3 separate regions of the Homo sapiens genome follow, and all the other regions are linked to region 2. The links are contacts of gene promoters, found by promoter capture Hi-C in blood cells and fetal thymus (Javierre and others, 2016). All regions are on one chromosome and are shown on one strand. The core of a region is centred on a gene start or on the middle of the fragment in contact, and the rest is flanking DNA. Distances in the headings are between cores, read along the strand shown. Region 1 has its middle 290 kb from the start of HGF. Region 2 holds the start of CACNA2D1 (calcium voltage-gated channel auxiliary subunit alpha2delta 1). Region 3 has its middle 260 kb from the start of HGF.

Region 1 (3,075 bases), core at 436-2,935, 960 kb before region 2:
GAGCAGAACTGAAGGAGATATGAGGCACACACAAAAAAGTAATTCACAAACTCACAATTTCTTTTTTCTTTTCTTTTTCTTTTTCTTTTTTTTTTTTTTTTTTTTTTTTTTTTTTGAGACAGAGTCTCGCTCTGTTACCCAGGCTGGAGTGCAGTGGCACAATCTTGGCTCACTGCAAGCTCCGCCTCCCGGGTTCACGCCATTCTCCTTTCCCCTGCCTCAGCCTCCAGAGTGGCTGAGACTACAGGCGCCTGCCACCAAGCCCGGCTAATGTTTTGTATTTTTAGTAGAGACAGGGTTTCACCGTGTTAGCCAGGATGGTCTCAATCTCCTGACCTCGTGATCCGCCTGCCTCGGCCTCCCAACACAATTTCTTTAGCACCAGTCTTTAGAAATGACTGTGGGAATAGTTCAATTTATTGAGAAATACCTTTCTCCTCTTGCTTTATTTGGTGTTGTAACTCCTTCTTCTACCTTAGTTATTTCTATGCAGAGGTAATTTTCTAGTTGTAGAGTTAGTCACTGATGGACGCCACCTGATTATAGCAAGAGAAGGACTAGAATCATCATGTTCACTAGCACTAGGTTCTTGTGTCAGAGCACAGGACCAGGTTTCTGGAGGCTTCTATTCTGCCAGCAGAGCACAACATTTTTCAGTCACCAATGTGAGGTACAAAGAATGGGGATGATCAATGCCTTAATTCAAAAGTGTGATACATGTTTGACAATGAACAATTTATAGGTTGAAAAAAAAAAGATGTGGCAAGAAGTTCCATGTAATGAAACTTGAAAGCTTTTTAACATTCTGCTTTATAAAAACAGAAACATGAATCGTATAAAAACTGAACTAGTTTTAGATATTTCTTAATATAACATTTTCAAGATAATTTATGTAGAGCATCAGTCTAAGTGTATATTTACATTAACATGTAATAGAAAAAAGGGGATCAGGTCTGATCATCTTGTAAAGAGTTATGTTGGTGGTTGGAAGCGTGGAATTCAGACAAATAGATTATATTATGATTTGATGACAAATTATTACTTTTCTCATGACATTGTATGCATAAAAATATGCATTGTAAGAAATCTATGAAAAACTATGGGACTTCAATTCAATAGAATTTCTCCCTTAGGGTGGCATATATAAAGATTCATAAGAATAAGCAGAAGTATAGTACGCTAAGAAATGGAAATGTTATGAATTTGTAAGTGAAGTTTCTTTTAGTGCCACTAGATGGCATATGTTAGCTGTAAATCTCCCTTGAATAAAGTTTAAGATTTAACGTGACTTGTTTCCCCAGAGTATCCAACACATTTTATTTTAAATATTAATGGATTTTTATATGTTTTCTCAAATATATGACACTCAATACAATTAATAAATAATTGGAAAAATATCACATGATTATTTTTATATCAAGTTAAAACAAGAAGAATTATGTCATCTGCAAACAATTTTGTTGTCTTCCTTTCTAATTTGAATGTATTTTAGTTCTTTTTCTTGCCTAATGGTTCTAGCTAGGATCTCCAGTACTATGCTGAATAGAAGTGGTGTTAAGAAGCATTTTTGTTTTGTTTCTGGTGGTAGAGGAAAAGCTTTCAATTTTTAACCATTTAGTATGATGTTAGCTGTTGGTTTGTCACATATAGCCTTTATTATGTTGAGGCAACTTCCTTCTATACCTAGTCTGTTAAGAGTTTTTATCATTGTCAGGATGGCTGCAATATGGCGGAGTAAAAAGTCTCAGGCTACACACACTCCCCCCACCCCTTGTAAGCTTATCTAGCAATTATCCATAGACCAGAACATCTTCTTCAAAAGCCCAATATTGGAAACGAGCCTGAGACAATGTGGTACACATACCTAAGTGAAAATTGAGTGAGAAGGGTCAGAAGAATGGTCTCCCCCCCCGCCACCACGAAGTTGGCACAACACTGGTTGAAGAGCATTACCCTGGACCCATAGTTTCTGCAGTGGGGAAAGAGAACTGGAGGCAGTCATTCAGCTTCCCTAGCATTTTGAGATGCTTTCTTTCCAGGAATCCCGCCTGTCTCACCTCATAGGGAAAGAAAAGGGTAAAGGCATGGCTAGACCACCTGGGGTCAAGTAGAAACAAAGAAAGAAGGCAGAGGCCACAGTGACTAGCATATGGATCTGTGTGGCACCTCTGTGTTCACACCAGCTGCGGTGCCCAATCAGAGTTACCAGCCAACTTCATAGCCCACCCAGAAAGCTGAACTGATCTTTTTCAGAAGCACAGTGGGAAGTTCAGCCTTGCTTGAGTCCCTAGATGGCTAGCCTCCATGGCCAGGCACACAGCCTACTCTAACAACCCTGCCCAGGTAGGGAGATGCCCCCCTCTGCGCATTTTGAGAATCACACAGGCTAGATATCTTGGGTCAAGCAGTGGCTCCACTCATCCAAAAAGCTTGCCTTATAATCCTGCTGAGGCAGGGAGACAGCCACATGCATACATTTCTAAGAGGCACAAGGGCTAGACCTGTAAAACCTAGGAGTCCAAAGAGTAAGTAACTTAGCTCAGCCAAAAAGCCTGCCCAACAACCTCCCGTGTGCATTTTGCAGGAGTGTAGGAACTAAACCTGCTTGACGCAGGAAGTCAAGTAGCATCTTGACTCAGGCAAAAGTCCACCCTACAGCTCTGACCTAATGGAGGCAACCCTTAATCACACATTTTTAAGGAGCATAGGCTCTTGTCTTGCCCATCACAAGCAGCAACTTTCAAAGCCCAGCCTGAAGCCCTGCCCAAGTGCAGATTCCAAATAGTAAAATTGCCCAGCCAAGGAATACATCTTCTGACTACCCTGACCAGAGAGCATCACAGTACCAAGCCGGCAACTCTTCCTAATAGCGGAGCCCAACCAGTAGCTTCCTCTAATAGCAGAGCCCAACCATTGGTCTCTGCCTAACCAGTGGTCTCTCTGGACAGCAGAGCCCAGCCATCAGAGCAAAGGCAGTGGCCCAGCCAACTAGAGAAACCACAGCAAGTTCTGCCTGGAGTTGTCAGCCCTTTCAGAATCACAGGCTAGACTATTAGTGAAGGTCTGTTCCTACAA
Region 2 (2,934 bases), core at 429-2,928:
ATTAGACACTCCCCTTCTCCGGGATAGAATGTGCATCCTCCAGATTCTTGCACTGACACCTAAGGTAATAAATACTTAAAACTGAATCTTAAATAATAGCCGCAGGATTTCAACCGCTAAAGATTCACTGTTACTTTCCACCAAAAACTCCTGTATTCAGCACTCAGCCAACAAAGGACAGCAAGTAATTCCCAGCAGCATAAATACCGGGAAAGCTACCTTGGGCTTTGTTTTTGTTATGTAAAATGCATTAAAGTGACTCATCCACTTAAGATTACCTACCTTTAGAAGCTTTAAAGAAGCTCCAAGAACCAAAATAAATGCTTTCCCAGAATGCCGGATAGGCTATTCGGTGCATTAAAAAATATGTATATATTTATATGTGCCATTGAGTTTGATTCTATTTTGCTAAGAAAGGAGAGAATTATTATTTTTCATTCCCTTCCTGTGGTGTGACTATAGCTACCTATAAGCCCTCTATTTCCAGAACAGCAGCGAGGTTTTTAAAAGTTATTTTAGAAATGGTAAAAATAAAAGAAAATTTGTAGGAGACTGGAAATAGTCCCTCCTTCAAAGAATAGGCTCTATTCATTTGAAGAACAGGGACCGCGTGTCTGCCGACACTTAGATGTTTCAAATAATGGGTTGGGGAGGTTGGATCGCGTGGTCCCAGTACCTGCGAGCCCCCTGCGTGGACAGCACGCTCGGCCGCGGGGAGCCAGCACGCGTCTAATCGGAAGGCTGTCAAGTGCATCCAGTAACGTGGGATAAAACGAGTTTGGGCACTACAGCAATTAAAGAGCATCTCCGAGGCCAAGTGCGGGGGAAGTCCACGCTACCTCGGCAAGCCTGAAATTACCTGTTTGTAAATTACCCAACCAAAACATAACTTTTTATTGAACTGGGTTGAATCAGAGCGGGTGAGCTGGCTGGAAACTTTTTTCCCCAGTACGGCTGCACTCTGAAGTCTAGAGAATCCCGTTAGAGACGGGCTGAGACGCCGCGAGTCGTCGGCGGGCGCTTCCCGGGACAGTCGGCCCCCAGTGCCCGGCCCCGTGGAGGCGCCCGAGACGCCGGTTCGGGACGCATTCCAGCGGCGAGCGGCGCGCACCGCCTGCCCGGCGTCTCCGCATCCGAGCCTGGCTCCCCGGCCGCTCGCTCCCCACCCCCACGGGCGGAAAAGCCCCGCGACTCGGGAACCGACCCCCACCCCCAACTCCCGCGGCGCCCCTCGGCCGGCGCTCCCTGCCCGGCCCGCCGACTTACGTGACGGCCGAAGGGAACGGCTCCTCCGACGAGGGGCCGATGAGCAAAGATTGGAAAAGTGTCAGAGTCAAGGCCAGCAGGCAGCCAGCAGCCATCTTCGCGATCGAAGATCAATGCCCCCTCCCTGCCCAAGCGGGGGAAGGAGCGGCGCTGGAAACCGCGGGCGGAGGAAGAGCAGCACACGCCGCCGGGACCGCGGGCGTCTGGAGGGCTGGCTGCGCCCGGGGCCCGAGGCGCGGAGCCGCGCGGGGGACGGCAAGGGCGGGAGCGGACGCCGAGGAAGGGGCGGTGGCGGGCGGACCCACTAGCGTGCGTCGGCTGCTCCGCGCCGCGGCCGCCTTGCCTCCGCCGCCATCAAGGGCGACTTTGGAAACAGACCTCGGCGAGCCCGCCGGCGCTCGCGCGCTCTCGCTCTCCCTCTCGGTTTCCTCCCTGATTTATTCCCCCGATTGCCGAGGCGAAGGCGGAGGCGGGGGCGGGGGCGGAGGAGGGGTGACGGCGCTGGAGGGTGGGGGTGGCTGCAGGAATCGGGGAATGGCAGGCAGAGAGACTTGTGGAAGCGAGAGGCTCCGTCTGGCTTCTTAGGCAAGTCAGAGGGAGGCGGCTGGGGGTGGGCAGCGGGAGGGCTGGGCGTCAGAGCAGTCGGGCGGAGACGGGCCGGGAGCAGCCCTCCATACAAGGCAGCCAGGAACTCCCAAAGTCGGCGCCGGCTCGCTCCCGCCGCCCGGCGTGCGCAGGCGGAGCGGACCAGCCCCGCGGGGCTCCCGGGGGACGGCCAGCCGCCCAGCGGGCATCCACAGGCTGCAGAGGCTCCAACCCAGGACTTGGCTCGCGTCTTCGGGGGTTATTTTTGCACATGCAGGCAGCGTTCCCCCCCAGCCCTACTCCCAGGCGCAGAATCCAGTGCCTGCCTGGGAATCGTGAAGTGATTTGACAACAAATGTAGGAGGGGTTTGTATTGCATTTTAAAGCACCACTGTTGACTCTCTACCAGGTGGCACTATATGCCCGCGTGTGCCATAGGTTAGAGCCTCTGCCGGGGCTGGGTGCCCTTTGTGCCAGCGGTCCCACGCCCAGGTACTGCTCGGCTCACCTGGCGAGGACAGAGCCTCAGGGACCGGGCTGTGGACGGACAGAGAAGTACTGACGCTGTAAAATCTTCCCAGCCCTGTGGTTCCATTGGACAGAGGGGTGGAGGGACGAATTCTGCATCTAGGGAGGACAGTAGTAAGAGAAGCGCTTTGCAGCATCCCAGTTGGGACTACCTCCAAAAGGGTCCTAACGCCCTGCTCTGGCCACTGGCCTGCCCTGCCTGACAAGGTTACCGCAGGGTGAGCTCACTTTTGTCAATGCGAAGGCATGAAAAGGGTAAGCAGCAGGAACAGGTGGCACTCTGAGAAATGCGCCTGAAATGTAGAGGAGGAATTAAGGGAGGGGGAGAGAGCTAGGGAGTAGCAATGCCGGACTGGTTTTATCTCCAGACTCAGAGGAAGCAGTGGCGGGCTTTCTCCTTGAAAAGACAGGGTCTGCGACTAGGCCTCTCCCGCCCAACACAGGCCTCCTACAAGAGGGCCCTGGTGGGCCAAAGATAGAAATATATTCTTGCACACCTTAAATTCTTAAGCTCCCTCTAGTAGTGTATGAGAATACTTTTGACATGACGTGCAG
Region 3 (3,114 bases), core at 17-2,516, 940 kb before region 2:
ATTTAAAAATTAATATTGTCAAAATTGTTTTCTGAGCCTTGTTACTATAAAAAAGTTAACTGCTTTTTTCTTTTACTATAATATTACTCCTTGAGCTTCTTATTCATTCTTAATCCTATGTACTAATTCAATTAATATATGTCATGCAAATTAGAATAAATGCATGAAAAGAAAAAAAGGAAAAAATATTTACAAATATAAAGACAGAAATTTTAAGCCATTAATTGCACAACTAGTATTTTTCTCGAATGAAAGGTCATTATTTAGGAGATCAAAACAAAATGATCCAAACCTAAAAATTGTTTAAATCTCTTTAATCAGTGACTTGTCTCACTTTGACTATCCACATCATTACACTGGAATGACATGGGGCTTCCTTTATATTGTGTAAAATATTAAGTACACTATTAGTTTCTAGCTTATAGGTAATCTTTAAAAAATAAGTCAATTCTGCTAATAAAAACTAGTGTAAGTAGTGTTCTCTTTTTAATAAGGTAAGACATTATTTTCCTTAAAAATAAACTCTAGCTCTTACGTTGAATGGCCTAGGAAGACTTCATTGAGTATCTTTAGGCAGCAGTCATCAAGTGGAATCAGAAAAGGAAATGTATATCAAATGTATATCAATTACAGGATGTAATTTGCTTATGAAATGACAGGCAGATATATGTCATGCTGGTTTTCCTTGACTTTGTCTACACCCTTTTAAATAGCTCCTTCCACAACTCTTCTCATTTTTTTCTGTCTGTTTCCTTCTGAGAGTCAGATGGACACAAAGACCAATAAATAAATTAATGTAAAATGTGATTCTCACTATTTATTCATGCAGCTTGTTTTTTATAGAGTGGTTAAATGTGAAATAATACACACAGAAATAGTCAAACAGTTGCATAACTTATGTCCCTTATCAAACAGAAGAAAGTGAAATATTTTGAGGGTCACCAAGAGAATTTGTTCCCAATCCACAAATAGAAGGGTGACTTAGCCCCTTAGTTCCCATATTCACAATTTAAGAAGAATGATTAGATAGTTTATAGGTTGAATATCAGAAGTCCCAAGATAAGCAGCAAATATTTCCATTGTCCCCCAGTAGGTCTAAGGGATCTTTTATTGTTGTTTCACACAGGGGTAAATACATACATCATATCTCATCATGCATCTGTCCTGTATGCTTGGCCAGACCAGATAAAAATGGGCATGCTTTCTTTTTAATATGTTTTGTCACAGCCTCTCCAATTTCTGGCATACCATAAAGGTATTATTTTCATCATCATCAACTCATTACATCAATGCTTCTTTACTAATTTTTTCTTAGAAACAATTTGAGGTAAGAGAGGCAGATTTGTTATAATTCTGCTACTACATTTAAAGATATATTATTTAATATATTTTTTATCCCTCTTACAAAAATAATATAAATCAATATTGGATGTCTGGGGGATTCATTTTTCTTTAAAAAGCATGCATGAGTTAATCAAGTTTGAAAATATAGAAATACTAGTATAATGGAGCAAACATGTTCTCTGGAAATAGACATATCTGGGCTAAAATTATGACTTACACTTAATTTGAGCAAGTTAATTTTTTTGTTTGGAACAATGTTGCCTAGTTTGTAGAGTTTCTATGAGGAAGAAAATACCTTATGGAAGTTTATAGCATTCAGTAGGCTAACAATTTGTGACCATTATTATCCACTACTATTATTTTGCAATTTAAGTCTTCATCTTAGGAGAAGACAAAGAATAACAAGAGAACCTTAATTCATGGGTTAGAGACATCAGGTGATCATTGAAATAACCACAATGAGCTCCACTTCCTAGGTTGACAAGGCAGGGTGGATATTAAAGCATAGTTGACAGGAAGTAATATATTTCTCTAATCTCTACAGGTGTTTTGGATAGAGTCTAGTGAATATTAGACTCAGGCTAGCAGATAGTGCTGGTGGCTTCCATGGGTACTCTGACTTCAAAAAAATATCCATATCATACATAAACATTGCTAATTTCTCTTAAATTTTCTTCCTATTCACCATAAATTTTTCTGCCTTTCTATGTCTACTAAAGAATAAAACAGGTCCAATAATATGCTGGTAAACCAACTCTTAAAATGTAAAACAAAACCAAAAACCTGGTATGTAGTATTTGCCAATTTTTGTGACATAAATATTCCCATCATTACCTATTTCAAGCTACCAAATGCTTAGCAACAAGACTACAAAATTTCTGCATGCTTAACAATAGGCTCTCTCAGCTGGGATAAGCCAGCTCCAGCATACTACTGTTCCAAATTATCAGCTGAAAACAAAGTGCCAAGAGTATTTGGTTGTAAATTATCTTATGAGGTATATGTAGTAAGGGTTTGGTGTTTGATGAGTCAAATCAGCCTTGGAAAAGTAATGTGCCTGTGCAACGAGCACAATAGAAGAAAAAACATATAAGGTTACAAAGATATAAGTCTCTGGTGTGTCTAAGCAGCCATAATATCCTCAGGATTCATCTTTAATGTCCAAATTAAGTGAAAAGCACTAAAAATTCCAGTTTTGTCACTGTACGCAGCTCTTAAACTTTTTTTAGTTCTTCACTGATGGTTTAAAACCTTTTCATTACTGATTTGCATCATGAAATATGAATGGTTGAAATAATGAAAAGATTGGACAGAGTTATTTATAGACCTTCTCCTTCCTAGTCTTCTGCTTATACACTGTTTATGTTGAAATCAGAGTAAAAAAACATAGTTATAAACTTTGATGATTTAAATATACCTTTCTTTCATTTTGTCAAAGTGGACATTAGTTCTGGAATTTTTATTACGGGCTCAATTTGCTACATAAAGATAGTTTCAGGAATTTTGATTCATAATTCCTTGGGGATCACATTTGCAGGAAATAGTGTCTAGCCAGTTACCTCATTGTCTCTTTAGCCAATCTGGACTCAAATTGGAAGAGTTTAATTCAGTTCATGAAACATGGCTTAATGTCTTCTCTACCTGCCCTGAGAGAGACCTTTGAATAATCACGTATAGGTTCAAAGACTAAGGTTAATCAGGAGACAGGTATGGGTTCAAAGACTAAGGTTAATCAGGAGACAATATACAACAGTTTTGTTTATTTTGTTT

What was found. Contacts are between HindIII fragments. The CHiCAGO score rates a contact against its expected background, and 5 or more counts as called.
Region 1: a contact is called between a fragment that was not itself captured here and the fragment with the promoter of CACNA2D1 in region 2, in 1 of 17 cell types (fetal thymus). The highest score is 5.0, in fetal thymus.
Region 3: a fragment that was not itself captured here is called in contact with the fragment with the promoter of CACNA2D1 in region 2 in 1 of 17 cell types (fetal thymus); the score reaches 5.8 in fetal thymus.

What each region holds. Positions count from the first base shown.
Region 1 is chr7:81,481,560-81,484,634 of GRCh38, forward strand. No RefSeq gene overlaps it. Among named protein-coding and RNA genes, the nearest start is that of HGF, 290 kb to the right of the region's middle. The HindIII fragment of the contact is 182 bases long and covers 1,595-1,776 here.
Region 2 is chr7:82,442,099-82,445,032 of GRCh38, forward strand. CACNA2D1 (calcium voltage-gated channel auxiliary subunit alpha2delta 1) reads right to left here and starts at 1,679. Exons shown (of 39, transcript NM_000722.4): 1 at 1,267-1,679. The coding sequence starts at 1,361. RefSeq lists an enhancer at 121-684. The HindIII fragment of the contact is 3,454 bases long and covers 290-2,934 here.
Region 3 is chr7:81,504,532-81,507,645 of GRCh38, forward strand. No RefSeq gene overlaps it. Among named protein-coding and RNA genes, the nearest start is that of HGF, 260 kb to the right of the region's middle. The HindIII fragment of the contact is 4,512 bases long and covers 1-3,114 here.